Regions from separate parts of the Homo sapiens genome. Here all the other regions are linked to region 3. Evidence: promoter capture Hi-C in human tissues and cell types (Jung and others, 2019). All regions are on one chromosome and are shown on one strand. The core of a region is centred on a gene start or on the middle of the fragment in contact, and the rest is flanking DNA. Distances in the headings are between cores, read along the strand shown.

What was found. The method cuts DNA at HindIII sites, captures the fragments that hold promoters and counts their contacts. A contact is called where the count stands out against the background at its distance.
Region 1: a contact is called between a fragment that was not itself captured here and the fragment with the promoter of TREX1 in region 3, in 5 of the 25 tissues and cell types used here (IMR-90 fibroblasts, hippocampus, lymphoblastoid cells and 2 more).
Region 2: a contact is called between a fragment that was not itself captured here and the fragment with the promoter of TREX1 in region 3, in 1 of the 25 tissues and cell types used here (pancreas).

What each region holds. Positions count from the first base shown.
Region 1 is chr3:48,269,784-48,274,197 of GRCh38, forward strand. It overlaps ZNF589 (zinc finger protein 589), which reads left to right. Exons shown (of 4, transcript NM_016089.3): 4 at 1-1,207. Among named protein-coding and RNA genes, the nearest start is that of NME6, 29 kb to the right of the region's middle. The HindIII fragment of the contact is 5,059 bases long and covers 1-4,414 here.
Region 2 is chr3:48,245,132-48,249,573 of GRCh38, forward strand. ZNF589 (zinc finger protein 589) reads left to right here. Exons shown (of 4, transcript NM_016089.3): 2 at 2,494-2,546. Among named protein-coding and RNA genes, the nearest start is that of ZNF589, 6.2 kb to the left of the region's middle. The HindIII fragment of the contact is 4,289 bases long and covers 160-4,442 here.
Region 3 is chr3:48,464,508-48,467,479 of GRCh38, forward strand. It overlaps TREX1 (three prime repair exonuclease 1), which reads left to right and starts at 1,723. Exons shown (of 2, transcript NM_033629.6): 1 at 1,723-1,802; 2 at 2,123-2,972. The coding sequence starts at 2,149. ATRIP (ATR interacting protein) reads left to right here. Exons shown (of 13, transcript NM_130384.3): 11 at 75-155; 12 at 324-576; 13 at 980-2,972. The coding sequence ends at 1,047. ATRIP-TREX1 (ATRIP-TREX1 readthrough) reads left to right here. Exons shown (of 15, transcript NR_153405.1): 12 at 75-155; 13 at 324-576; 14 at 980-1,802; 15 at 2,123-2,972. RefSeq lists enhancers at 949-1,038, 1,651-2,532, 2,119-2,318, 2,533-2,972. The HindIII fragment of the contact is 7,289 bases long and covers 1-2,972 here.

The sequences.
Region 1 (4,414 bases), core at 1,158-3,657, 190 kb before region 3:
GTAATGTGGACAGAGCTGTACGTGGACATCATTACTTGTCACGTGTCAGAGGACACACTCGGGAGAAACCTTCATGGAGTGAGAGTAAGGTGTTGGCTGGAAGTGGCCCCTTAAGAGATACTTGGAGTCAAATCTATCCACTGTACGCCCACCCCACTCTTGTTCTAAGAGCTTTGGGGACAGTCTTTTGACCCCTTACATTCCTTTAGATGTGAAGATGACAGAGATCTAACTTCTGAGAGCAGAGGTGTCAAGTGACGGTCCCCTTGGAGGAATGGTCTTTGCATCTGACTACTTCCTTCTGCAACTGTGTTCTTCCATTAGCTTCCATGACACTCTCCTGCTTTATTTTTTTCTACATCTCTAGCCTTTGCTGTTTCCTCTCCTACCCCACCTTTAGATTTTACTCAGAGTTCAGTCTCCAGCCCTACAATCTGAGGGACACCTTTACCAGGTCCCCTTCCTAACCCTCCAGTCCCAAATCCAAGATTCTTTAACCACACTCTAAAAGTTCTTCAGACTCAGGACTTAAACATAGCCACGCCACCTTGGCCTTCAATGACAGGGATCTAGCAATGCTGCATCATCAGCCTTCCAATACCAGGTTTAAGGGTATTTTAAACACAGCTCCTCTTAAATCCTCCAATCTCAGTACCCAGTGTTTTAGCCATGCTCGGGTGGCTAAATTACATCCAGGAATGGTGCCAGGGCCTTTAGCCATTTGTCTCTCCTCACACTCCAGGGCCCATATGGCCCAGGTTCTGACAGTTTGCCTTACTCCCTTGGGCTGGGGCTAGCCCTACCTGATACCCTGTGTCAATGAGTGTACCTTGGAGAGCTATCCACTCAGGCCCCAGTGCCTCTATTTGCTAAGGGACTCTGCCACAGAAAAGAAGGGGAGAGATGTTCATGTAACCTCAAAATACTTAGGCTTGGTTTTGATGCTAGAGAGGAAAAAGGACTTGGAGAGAGAGAAGGAATGGCTGGTCCAGAGGCTTTTGTCCACTCCCTCTCACTGGAAGTGGTTGATCTCCAGGGAATCCCCAAGGTTAGCCTGCTTAGGGGAAGGGCTAGGGGTACCTGGAATGTAGGATCTCCCCCATGCCTGGCCTACCACCCTAATGTGTCTGGAATTGGTGGGTTCTTGGTCTTGCTGACTTCAAGAATGAAGCCGTGGACCCTCACGGTGAGTGTTACAATTCTTAAACATGGTGTGTCTGGAGTTTGTTCCTTCTGATGTTCGGACGTGTCCAGAGTTTCTAACTTCTGGTGGGTTTGTGGTCTCGCTTAGGAGTGAAGCTGCAGACCTTAGCAGTGTTACGGCTCTTAAAGGCAGCGCATCTGGAGTTGTTAGTTCCTTCCGGTGGGTTCGTGGTCTTGCTGGTTTCAGGAGTGAAGCTGCGGACCTTTGCGGTTAGTGTTACAGCTCTTAAAGGCGGCGCGGACCCAAAGAGTGACCAGCAGGAAGATTTATTGTGAAGAGTGAAAAAACAAAGCTTCCACAGCATGGAAGGGGACCTGAGTGGCTTGCCGCTGCTGGCTCGGGTAGCCTGCTTTTATCCCCTTATCCGGCCCCACCCACATCCTGCTGATTGGTCCATTTTACAGAGAGCATATTGGTCCGTTTTGACAGGGTGCTGATTGGTGCATTTACAATCCCTGAGCTAGACACAGAGTGCTGATTGGTGCATTTACAAGCCTCTAGCTAGACAAAAATTTTCCAAGTCCCCACTAGATTAGCTAGACACGCGTTTACAAACCTTTAGCTAGACACAGTGCTGATTGGTGCGTTTACAATCCTTTAGCTAGACACAAGTTCTCCAAGTCCCCGCTAGATTAGCTAGACACAGAGCACTGATTGGTGCGTTTACAAACCTTGAGCTAGACACAGAGTGCTGATTGGTGCATTTACAATCCTCTAGCTAGACATAAAAGTTTTCCAAGTCCCCACCAGGTTAGTTAGATACAGAGTGCTGATTGGTGCATCCACAAACCCCGAGCTAGACAGAGAGTGCTGCTTGGTGCATATACAATCCTCCAGCTAGACAAAAGTTCTCCAAGACCCCACCCAACTCAGGAGCCCAGCTGACTTCCCCTAGTGGATCCCGCACTGGGGCTGTGGGTGGAGCTGCCTGCTAGTCCTGTGCCTCACACCTGCACACCTCAGCCCTTGGGCGGTCGATGGGACGGGCAGCGCCTGTCGGGGAGTCTCGGGCTGCATGCGAGCCCATGGCGGTCGGGGGTGGCTTGGGCATGGCAGGCCGCAGGTCCCAAGCCCTGCCTCATGGGGAGGCGGCTGAGGCCCGGTGAGAATTCAAGTGCGGCGTGGGCAGGCTGTCAGTGCTGGGGGACCCGGTGCACCCTCTGCAGCTGCTGGCCCGGGTGCTAAGCCCCTTAATGCCTGGGGCCTGTGGTGCCGGCCGGCCGCTCCGAGTGTGGGGGCCCCCGAGCCTGCGCCCACCCGGAACTCATGCTGGCCTGCGAGCCCCATGCGCAGCCCTGGTTCCCACCTGCGCCTCTCCCTCCACACCTCTCTGCCAGCCAAGGGAGCTGGCTCCGGCCTCGACCAACCCAGAGAGGGGCTCCCACAGTGCAGCGGCTGGCTAAAGGGCTCCTCAAGCGTGGCCAGAGCGGACGCTGAGGCCGGGGAGGCGCTGAGAGTGAGCGAGGGCTGCTAACACGTTGTCACCTCTCACTATTGCTGCCCCTTTCCCATGGCCTGAGCTAAAAGCCATAGAAAGTGTGTGTATGTGTGTGTGTTTAGGGGTTGCTGGGCAGGGGAAGGGTGGGACACCATCATTCCACAAGACCTCGAAGTTACTCCTCCCATAGAAAAATGAAAGTGGAAAAATTAGTGATCATACATCTACTTTAAACATGAGAGGGAGAAAAAAGTGTTCATTTTCTATTAAAATCCATGTAGGCACTGTCGAGATACCACACAGATCTGGTCCGGCAAGAGGACTGTCAGGTCCAGGCAGTCATAGGAAGAGATTGTAAGCTGCAGTAAATCTGAGTCTCTCTTCAAAGGGTTTAGCCTGCTAACTTCCTTATCCTTGTTCTCAAATTCAACTTTCTTGTTCTTCCTTACCCCTAGTTACTGTAAACAGCCTACCCCATTCTCGTCAGCTTTAATCAATAATTCACATCTGTTCCCTTGGTTACCTGTACCCATTGTTCCCCCGAAACTGCACGCCTCACACTCCACCTCTGTAACTCATGTCCCCCTCCCCTTCTATAGTTAGGAAAATATGTACAAGTGGCCAATTGGGTCAGCTCAGATTGTGCAGTCTGACCCCAGCCCATGGGGGGAGTGACACAGAGATAGGGACTGTGTTAAGGATAAAAATCCCCTGGTCTCCTTTGTTCTCTGTGCTCTTGTGATCTTGATTGACACAAGTGGCACCGTTCCGCAGAAGTAAATTACCTTGCTGAGAGAAATTAAACTTTTGCCTGAGTGCTGGTTTTACTTCATGGCACCGAGCATTTCATCCTAGAGCATTTTATATCCAACAATTCTGGGGGCTCGTCTGGGATTCCCATTCTCCTTCGGGAAGGGGTCTTCAGTCACCCTACCCAGGGGAGACACTTCCCACTGCCCTGTTGCGGTGGCCCTCAGGGATGGGAGATCGAGACCCACCTGTTGTGACGAATAAACCTGGACTCTCAGCAACGCGGGGAAGAGAGACTTGCAATACTGCGGCGACCAGGTAAACTGCACAGACCAAGGTAGAAAACGTCGCAGGGGCAACAAATTACTTCTTTAGTGGTTTTGCGGGGGTCGGGGCATTCTGGAGGTTGAAAGTGCATGAATGGTAACAAGCACTACTGCTGTGCGGAGTGAGACCAATCTGCAGTTCCGTGGTCATCTCATATGGCTTAGGGCGGCCCTTTGGGGGTCCCGTCAGGGGTTTATACTGACCCCCCATGAATGCTAAAAGTGACCTGGAACATTCCCTCAAGGGAAGCGGCCAGAGCGTGAAGGTTGCAGTGAAAGAAGGGTGCAAGGAATCTCCAGCAGGTGGAGCTAAAGGATAGGCGAATTGTGCCTTAGCAAAGCTTCCAGTGAAGGACAGGCAAGAGACCCCTAATACGAGGGGTTGAGCCAGAAGGAACCCCCCAAATAGGCAGGAGATCCCTAATATGAGGGGTTGAGCCACAGAAAGCCCCCACTAGGCAAGAGATTCCTAATACGAGGGATTGAGCCTAGCCAGGACCCAGTATGGTAAATAATACAAGCAAAAAAGATAAAGTTAGCAACAAAGATATACCACTGATAGTCCCCAAGGTCTCAAAGATATACCACCTGATAGCCCCTTAGGTCTCAGGCTAAAAGGTTGGAAAGATAACAAGAGAACTAAACATAAGACAAAGGAACAAATGATAAAATATTGCTGTTCTATTTGGTCTCAAA
Region 2 (4,442 bases), core at 1,054-3,553, 220 kb before region 3:
AGGGTTTCCCCGGCTCTGTCACTGAGGCTGGAGTATAATGGTGTGATCTCTCACTTCATTGCAACCTTTGCCTCTGGGGCTCAAATGATCCTGCCACTTCAGCCTCCCAAGTAGCTGGGGCTACAGGTGTACACCACCACGCCCGGCTAATTTTTTTATTTTTTGTAGAGATGGGGTTCACCATTGCCCAGGTTGATCTTGAACTTCTGGGCTCAAGCAATCAGCCCACCTCGGCCACCTAACGTGCTGGGATTACAGGCATGAGGCACCGTGCAGAGCCTGGCCAGCTTCTATGTATCTTATAAACACATATGCCTGGAATAAAGGGTGTCAAGGAGGAAGCTTCAGACTGCTGCTAAGACCCTCGTCCCCCTGAGAGGCACTCCCTTCCCCAGACTCTGTCCCTTCTACAAAGGCACAGGTCACAGGTTAGAAATATGACATCCCAGTTCCTTTTCTGAACTTTCAGAATCAGTGACACCCAAGGATCAGAAAAACATTCTTCTTTCCCCTCAGCAAAGATATGGAAGAGAAGGCTGGGCGCGGTGGCTCACGCCTGTAATCCCAGCATTTGGGAGGCCGAGGCAGGCAGATCACCTGAGGTCAGGAGTTCGAGACCAGCCTGGCCAACATGGTGAAACCCTGTCTCTACCAAAAATACGAAAATTAGCCAGGCATGGTGGCAGGTGCCTGTAATCCCAGCTACTTGGGAGGCTGATGCAGGAGAATTGCTTGAACCCAGGAGGCGGAGGTTGCAGTGAGCTGAGATCGTGCCATTGACCTTCAGCCTGGGTGACAGAGTGAGACTCTGTCTCAAAAAAAAAAAAACAGATATGGCAGGGAAAGCTTGAGCTTCCCTCCAGAGATGTTAAAATCTTACCTTTTAAAATTCCACAATAGGCCAGGCGTCGTGGGTCATGCCTATAATCCCAGCACTTTGAGAGGCCAATGTGGGCAGATCACTTAAGGTCGGGAGTTCGAGACCAGCCTAGCCAGCATGGTGAAACCCCCATCTCTACAAAAAATACAAAAATTAGCTGGGCATGGTGGTGCATGCCTGTAATCCCAGGGAAGTTGAGGTGGGAGGATCACTTGAGCCCAGGAGGTGGAGGTTGTAATGAGCAGAGATTGTGCCACTGCATTCCAGCCTGGGCAATAGTGAGACCCTATCTCAATCAATCAATCAATCAATCAGTTCCACAATAATTTGAAGAGGAATGAGAGTCTGACAAGCTGCGCTTTAGAAATGCTGTTGTAATGGTCTTTAATACTTTTTTCTCCTTTTACTCATGCTCTTTTGTAAAATAAGGAATAACATTGACAAGTTTTTAAAACAATATAATAATTATTATTTTTATTATTAGAGATGTGGGTCTCATTGTCACCCAGGCTGGTCTTGAAGCCGTGGATTCAAGTGATCCTCCCACCTCAGCCTCCCAAAGTGTTAGGATTACAGGCGTGAGCCACTGAAACCGGCCTGACACATTTTTAAAAAATATTTTCATTAAATCACAGACTTCTGTTTCTGTGTTTAACATTTTCTTTTTTTTTTCTTGAGACGGAGTCTCGCTCTGTCGCCCAGGCCGGAGTGCAGTGGTGCGATCTCGGCACACTGCAAGCTCTGCCTCCCGGGTTCATGCCATTCTCCTGCCTCAGCCTCCTGAGTAGCTGGGACTACAGGTGCCCGCCACCACACCCAGCTAATTTTTTGTATTTTCAGTAGAGATGGGGTTTCACTGTGTTAGTCAGGATGGTCTCGATCTCCTGACCTTGTGATCGGCCTGCCTCGGCCTCCCAAAGTGCTAGGATTACAGGCGTGAGCCACCGCGCCTGGCCTAACATTTTCATAAACTATTTTCGAGATGGAGTTTTGCTGTTGCCCAAGCTGGAGTGCAGTGGCGTGATCTCTGCTCACTGCAACCTTCGCCCCCTGGGTTCAAGCGATTCTCCTGCCACAGCCTCCTGAGTAGCTGGGATTATAGGCGTGCACTACCATGCCTGGCTAATTTTTTTATTTTTAGTGGAGTTGGGGTTTCTTTGTCATGTTGGTCAGACTGGCCTCAAACTCCTGACCTCAAGTCATCTGCCTGCCTCGGCCTCCCAAAGTTCTGGTATTATAGGCGTGTGCCACTGTGCTCGGTCCATTTTCATAAATTAAAAAAAAACATGTAACTAGAGTCACATAACACATGGGGGGAAATGATGCCTTGTCTCAACAGTTTTGCTAATTTTTAGGGTAGAAAGATGATGAGTGCTTAGAGTTTACCTTACTACATTTAATTAAGATCAGTGTTTCTGTAAAAATGTAATAGGGAAGTGGTGCAGAGCATAGAGAAGTTGACTCAAGCATAAGGCAGGAGGTGAGAGGAGCTCAGGGTCTGGGTCAGCTGAGAAGGCTCAGGTGGCCACAGCCAAGGCTCAGAGGGCTCTTGGGGATCCTCATGATGGGCCTGGTAGGGCTGGCTTCTCAAGGTTGCTTCTTTCTTTCCCCAGCTCTGCCTGCCAAGGATTCTGCCTGGCCCTGGGAAGAGAAGCCTAGATATCTGGTGAGTTGGGCCCGCCCTTCTCTTTTCTGAAATGCTGGCTCATTTCTCAGAGAATGGGCTCATCTGTCTTTCTTGGGAAGGGAGGAAGTGATTAACATTTAAGTGGTTTATGCCTTGTGTTAGCCATTGTTCTAGGCTTATTATAATGGTTTTTGCACTTAGTCTTTCTATTTTTTGAGCTTATACAAAAACATGACCAAGTTTAATTTTAATTCAGAGTATTCTAAAATATAATGGTAACTTTTTATAAAAACCTTGGGTTATTAAGATCCTAAAATGCACTATTAAAGTTCCCTACATCAACATTTGCACAAATAGTTATAACACTTTAATAGTATCTAATAGTCTGATCTTGTACATTGGACCTCTTTTTCACATTTTGTTTTAGAAAACAAAGATGCAAAAGTAGAAAAAGAGTTAACTCTTCTGTATCCATCATCCCACTTCAGCAGTTATCAACTCATGGCCAATTTTATTTCATCTCCATTCCCACTGGATTAAAGAAAATCCAAGGCATCATACCATTTAATCCATAAATATTTCAGTCCTGTGTTTAAATCATTAACAGCTGTAGGAGATGGGTGGTGACATCCCCATTTTCGAGATGAGATCATCTGGCTTAGAGGGATTACGTGATTTATGCACAGGGACACGTGGATGGCCAAATGGTAGAGTCAGGAATTAAATCCAGATTTCTCTGATCTCAAACCATGAATTTTCTGTGATGCCTTCTTGACTGTTTTTTTCTCCTAGAAAACTACCCAATGATAAAAGAACACACTTTCCAACTCTACGAAATGGGGTTATGTTTTGGATGAAGAGCCTCATAGAGTTCACCCCCTTGTTCTGATGTTGCATATCCCTCTCCCCCAACCCCTGTGATCTTTGCTATACCAGAAATTTAATTTATTGGTTTCTGGGCACAGGACTGTGTGAGATTCTGGGAGCTAGCCAAATAGAGTTGTTAAATTCACTGTCCTTATTCTCAAAGATCCAAGATTCTTTAGGAAATGATGCATAGAGACAGGAAATAATGACACTGGTAATAATTATGATGAAGACAGCTAAAACTGTAAAATAGTACAGGGAAAGACTAAGTGTTAGCCTGTAGCTGTTAAAACAATGCACAGCCACAAAGAATGGTCTTAGGTTTGGATTGATAATCAAATTCATGGTATGCAATGTACTTTAACCCTGCATTAAATTCGCGTAGCTTCATGAAGGGATAGAGTATAGGAGACATAGTAGGCACACCATTCTTCTCAGGAGGTTTTGTACCAGTCTCTAGGGCAGCTTCCAGGCCATAGGGGCCAAGCTTGATTGATACAGATGAGGGTGACTTGGGAGCAAATTACTTCATTATCAGGGAAGCAGCTGCCTTTATCCTTTATTTTCCCGTATTCCCTTCTCTGCCCCAACCTTTTTTTTTCTTTTTTTTTTTTGAGACAGAGTTTCGCTCTTGTCGCCCAGGCTGGAGTGCAATGGCATGATCTCGGCTCACTGCAACCTCCGCCTCCTGGATTCAAGCGATTCTCCTGCCTCAGCCTCCTGAGTAGCTGGGATTACAGGCACGCACCACCACACACAGCTAATTTTTGTATTTTTAGTAGAAACAGGGTTTCACCATGTTAGCCAGGCTGGTCTCGAACTCCTGACCTCAGGTGATCTGCCTGCCTCGGCCTCCCACAGTGCTGGGATTATAGGCATGAGCCACTGCGCCCGGCCCATCTTATGTTTTCATGCGCTTCAGAGTAAGTTGCAGATCTCAATACATTTCACCTCTGAATACTTCAGCATGCATATTATTAAGTAGAATTCAATATCGTTTCTGATTTTTTTCTGAGGTAAAATGTACATACAGTGAAATGCACAAATTTTGAGTTTACCTTTTGAGTT
Region 3 (2,972 bases), core at 473-2,972:
TAGAAGCTTAAGAAAACCCTCGCAGGGACTGGTCTCCTTCTGCCCAGGATGGAACCAATCTGTTCTTGTTCTAGGTGGTGTGGCTCCTGGCTAAGCTTGGTGTGCAGAGCCCCTTGCCCCCAGTCACTGGCTCCAACTGCCAGTGTAATGTGGAGGTGAGTGGGTAGGGGCCAACAGCTGGCAGCTCTGGTGGTAAGGGGGCCCCGTGCAAGGACTGTAGGCCCCACTGCAAACCCCCTCACGTGAGGTGGCTAGGCTGAGCGGATTGTTAGGGTGCAGGCCATGGTGGCACCAGGCCTCAGTCTGCACCCCCCCTCTCTCAGGTGGTCAGAGCGCTCACGGTGATGTTGCACAGACAGTGGCTGACAGTGCGGAGGGCAGGGGGACCCCCAAGGACCGACCAGCAGAGGCGGACAGTGCGCTGTCTGCGGGACACGGTGCTGCTGCTGCACGGCCTATCGCAGAAGGACAAGCTCTTCATGATGCACTGCGTGGAGGTCCTGCATCAGTTTGACCAGGTGATGCCGGGGGTCAGCATGCTCATCCGAGGGCTTCCTGATGTGACGGACTGTGAAGGTAAGCCTGCCAGAGGCCATCCTGCCCAGCCCCCATGGCTTCTTCCAGAGGTTCCCCAACAAGTCAGATTCCTGGGTGTCCCCTCAGCAGGCCCCCGCCCACTGCAGCCTGTTCCAGCACTGGGGCCATTTTCTTTTATCTTCCTGCCTCAGTTCTTCTCCAAGCATATTGGGATGCCTTTTGCATCTATCTGTTGAGTGTGCCTGGCAGAGCCACGGTTTTTCCAGAAATAGCCGTGTCTGAATTGCCTTTGTATCACTTTGTTTGCAGTAGCTGAGGGAGCAGGGCCTGGGTGTGGAAGGGACTGGTTAGTTCCTGCGGACGTTGGGGGAGGAGAGGTGGGACCTGCCCTAGGCCCTGGCACCTTTGGGCCCTCACCAGGAACCTCTCCTTTTTGTCTCAGAGGCAGCCCTGGATGACCTCTGTGCCGCGGAAACCGATGTGGAAGACCCCGAGGTGGAGTGTGGCTGAGGCCCTGAGTGTCCAGCCACATGGTGGCACCAGCACCACTCCTTTCCTTACCACATCAACTGATTAAAGCAGTGACCAGCAGGAACTGCCCAGAGAACTGGCTGGCCTTGTTTCCTGAGTCTGATCTGTTTGGCGGAGTGGGAGGGGTGGAGCAGGACCCGGACCCTGAGTGGCTGGGATCCTTCTTCCTGTCCCTGGCTGTTGCTGAGCCCGTCCCCATGGTAACTGATCTGCCTTGAGGAAGGAGCCCTGCCCTGCCTGTGGAATTGTCCTGAGTCATTGCTTTGGGCTGGGGCCATGGGAAGAAACCATTGTGTGGCAGGGAAGGAGGTGGCTCTTGGCCCAGGCCTAAACCAGGAAAGCCTGGGAAACTGGGACCCACAGGTGGGCATGAAAGGGCCGCAGCAGGGGCTCCCAGCAGTGTGTAAGACCGGGAGCTGGTCTGGCACCACTGCCCTGGTCCTTCCAGCTGCCTGTCACTGGTATGATGGCCCCGGTGCATTGTGCCACCAGCAGGCCACAGCTGTGGATCTTGGAAGGCCTCTGGGGTCCCCCGGGAGCAGGGGAGTGGGTGTGGGGGGGAACGGATGGTGGTGAGAGGGACAGACCAGGCAGGCTGACGAGCAGGGCGGGCCTGGCTCACGTGGGCCTGTAGGCGGGCCCACGCCAAGTTTCACTTCCCGCCACTGCTGCCAGCGAGAGCCGCGGGAGAGTGTGCAGCCGAGTCACTACTGCCTGCCTGCCTGCCTGCTACGGTGAGTGTGGCCCCCACAATGGGATGGCGCAGGGCAGGAGGGCCATGGGTTCCCCCACCCCAGACTAAGGGGGCACTAGGGGAGGGGCCGAGTCATGTGAAGAGGGAGACCCTCTCAGACAGTCGAATGTGCTGGTCCCACTAAGGAAACCACCTCACCCTCTCCAACTTCCTGCCTGAAAATGGGCCCTGGAGCTCGCAGACAGGGCAGGATTGTGCAGGGAAGGCCTGAGATGTGCTTCTGCCCACCCCCTACCCCACTCCCTCCCCTTCGGATCTTAACACTGGGCACTCACACACCCACCCCATGCTCCTCTCCAGGCTCAGCAGCAGGTACGTACCCAACCATGGGCTCGCAGGCCCTGCCCCCGGGGCCCATGCAGACCCTCATCTTTTTCGACATGGAGGCCACTGGCTTGCCCTTCTCCCAGCCCAAGGTCACGGAGCTGTGCCTGCTGGCTGTCCACAGATGTGCCCTGGAGAGCCCCCCCACCTCTCAGGGGCCACCTCCCACAGTTCCTCCACCACCGCGTGTGGTAGACAAGCTCTCCCTGTGTGTGGCTCCGGGGAAGGCCTGCAGCCCTGCAGCCAGCGAGATCACAGGTCTGAGCACAGCTGTGCTGGCAGCGCATGGGCGTCAATGTTTTGATGACAACCTGGCCAACCTGCTCCTAGCCTTCCTGCGGCGCCAGCCACAGCCCTGGTGCCTGGTGGCACACAATGGTGACCGCTACGACTTCCCCCTGCTCCAAGCAGAGCTGGCTATGCTGGGCCTCACCAGTGCTCTGGATGGTGCCTTCTGTGTGGATAGCATCACTGCGCTGAAGGCCCTGGAGCGAGCAAGCAGCCCCTCAGAACACGGCCCAAGGAAGAGCTATAGCCTAGGCAGCATCTACACTCGCCTGTATGGGCAGTCCCCTCCAGACTCGCACACGGCTGAGGGTGATGTCCTGGCCCTGCTCAGCATCTGTCAGTGGAGACCACAGGCCCTGCTGCGGTGGGTGGATGCTCACGCCAGGCCTTTCGGCACCATCAGGCCCATGTATGGGGTCACAGCCTCTGCTAGGACCAAGCCAAGACCATCTGCTGTCACAACCACTGCACACCTGGCCACAACCAGGAACACTAGTCCCAGCCTTGGAGAGAGCAGGGGTACCAAGGATCTTCCTCC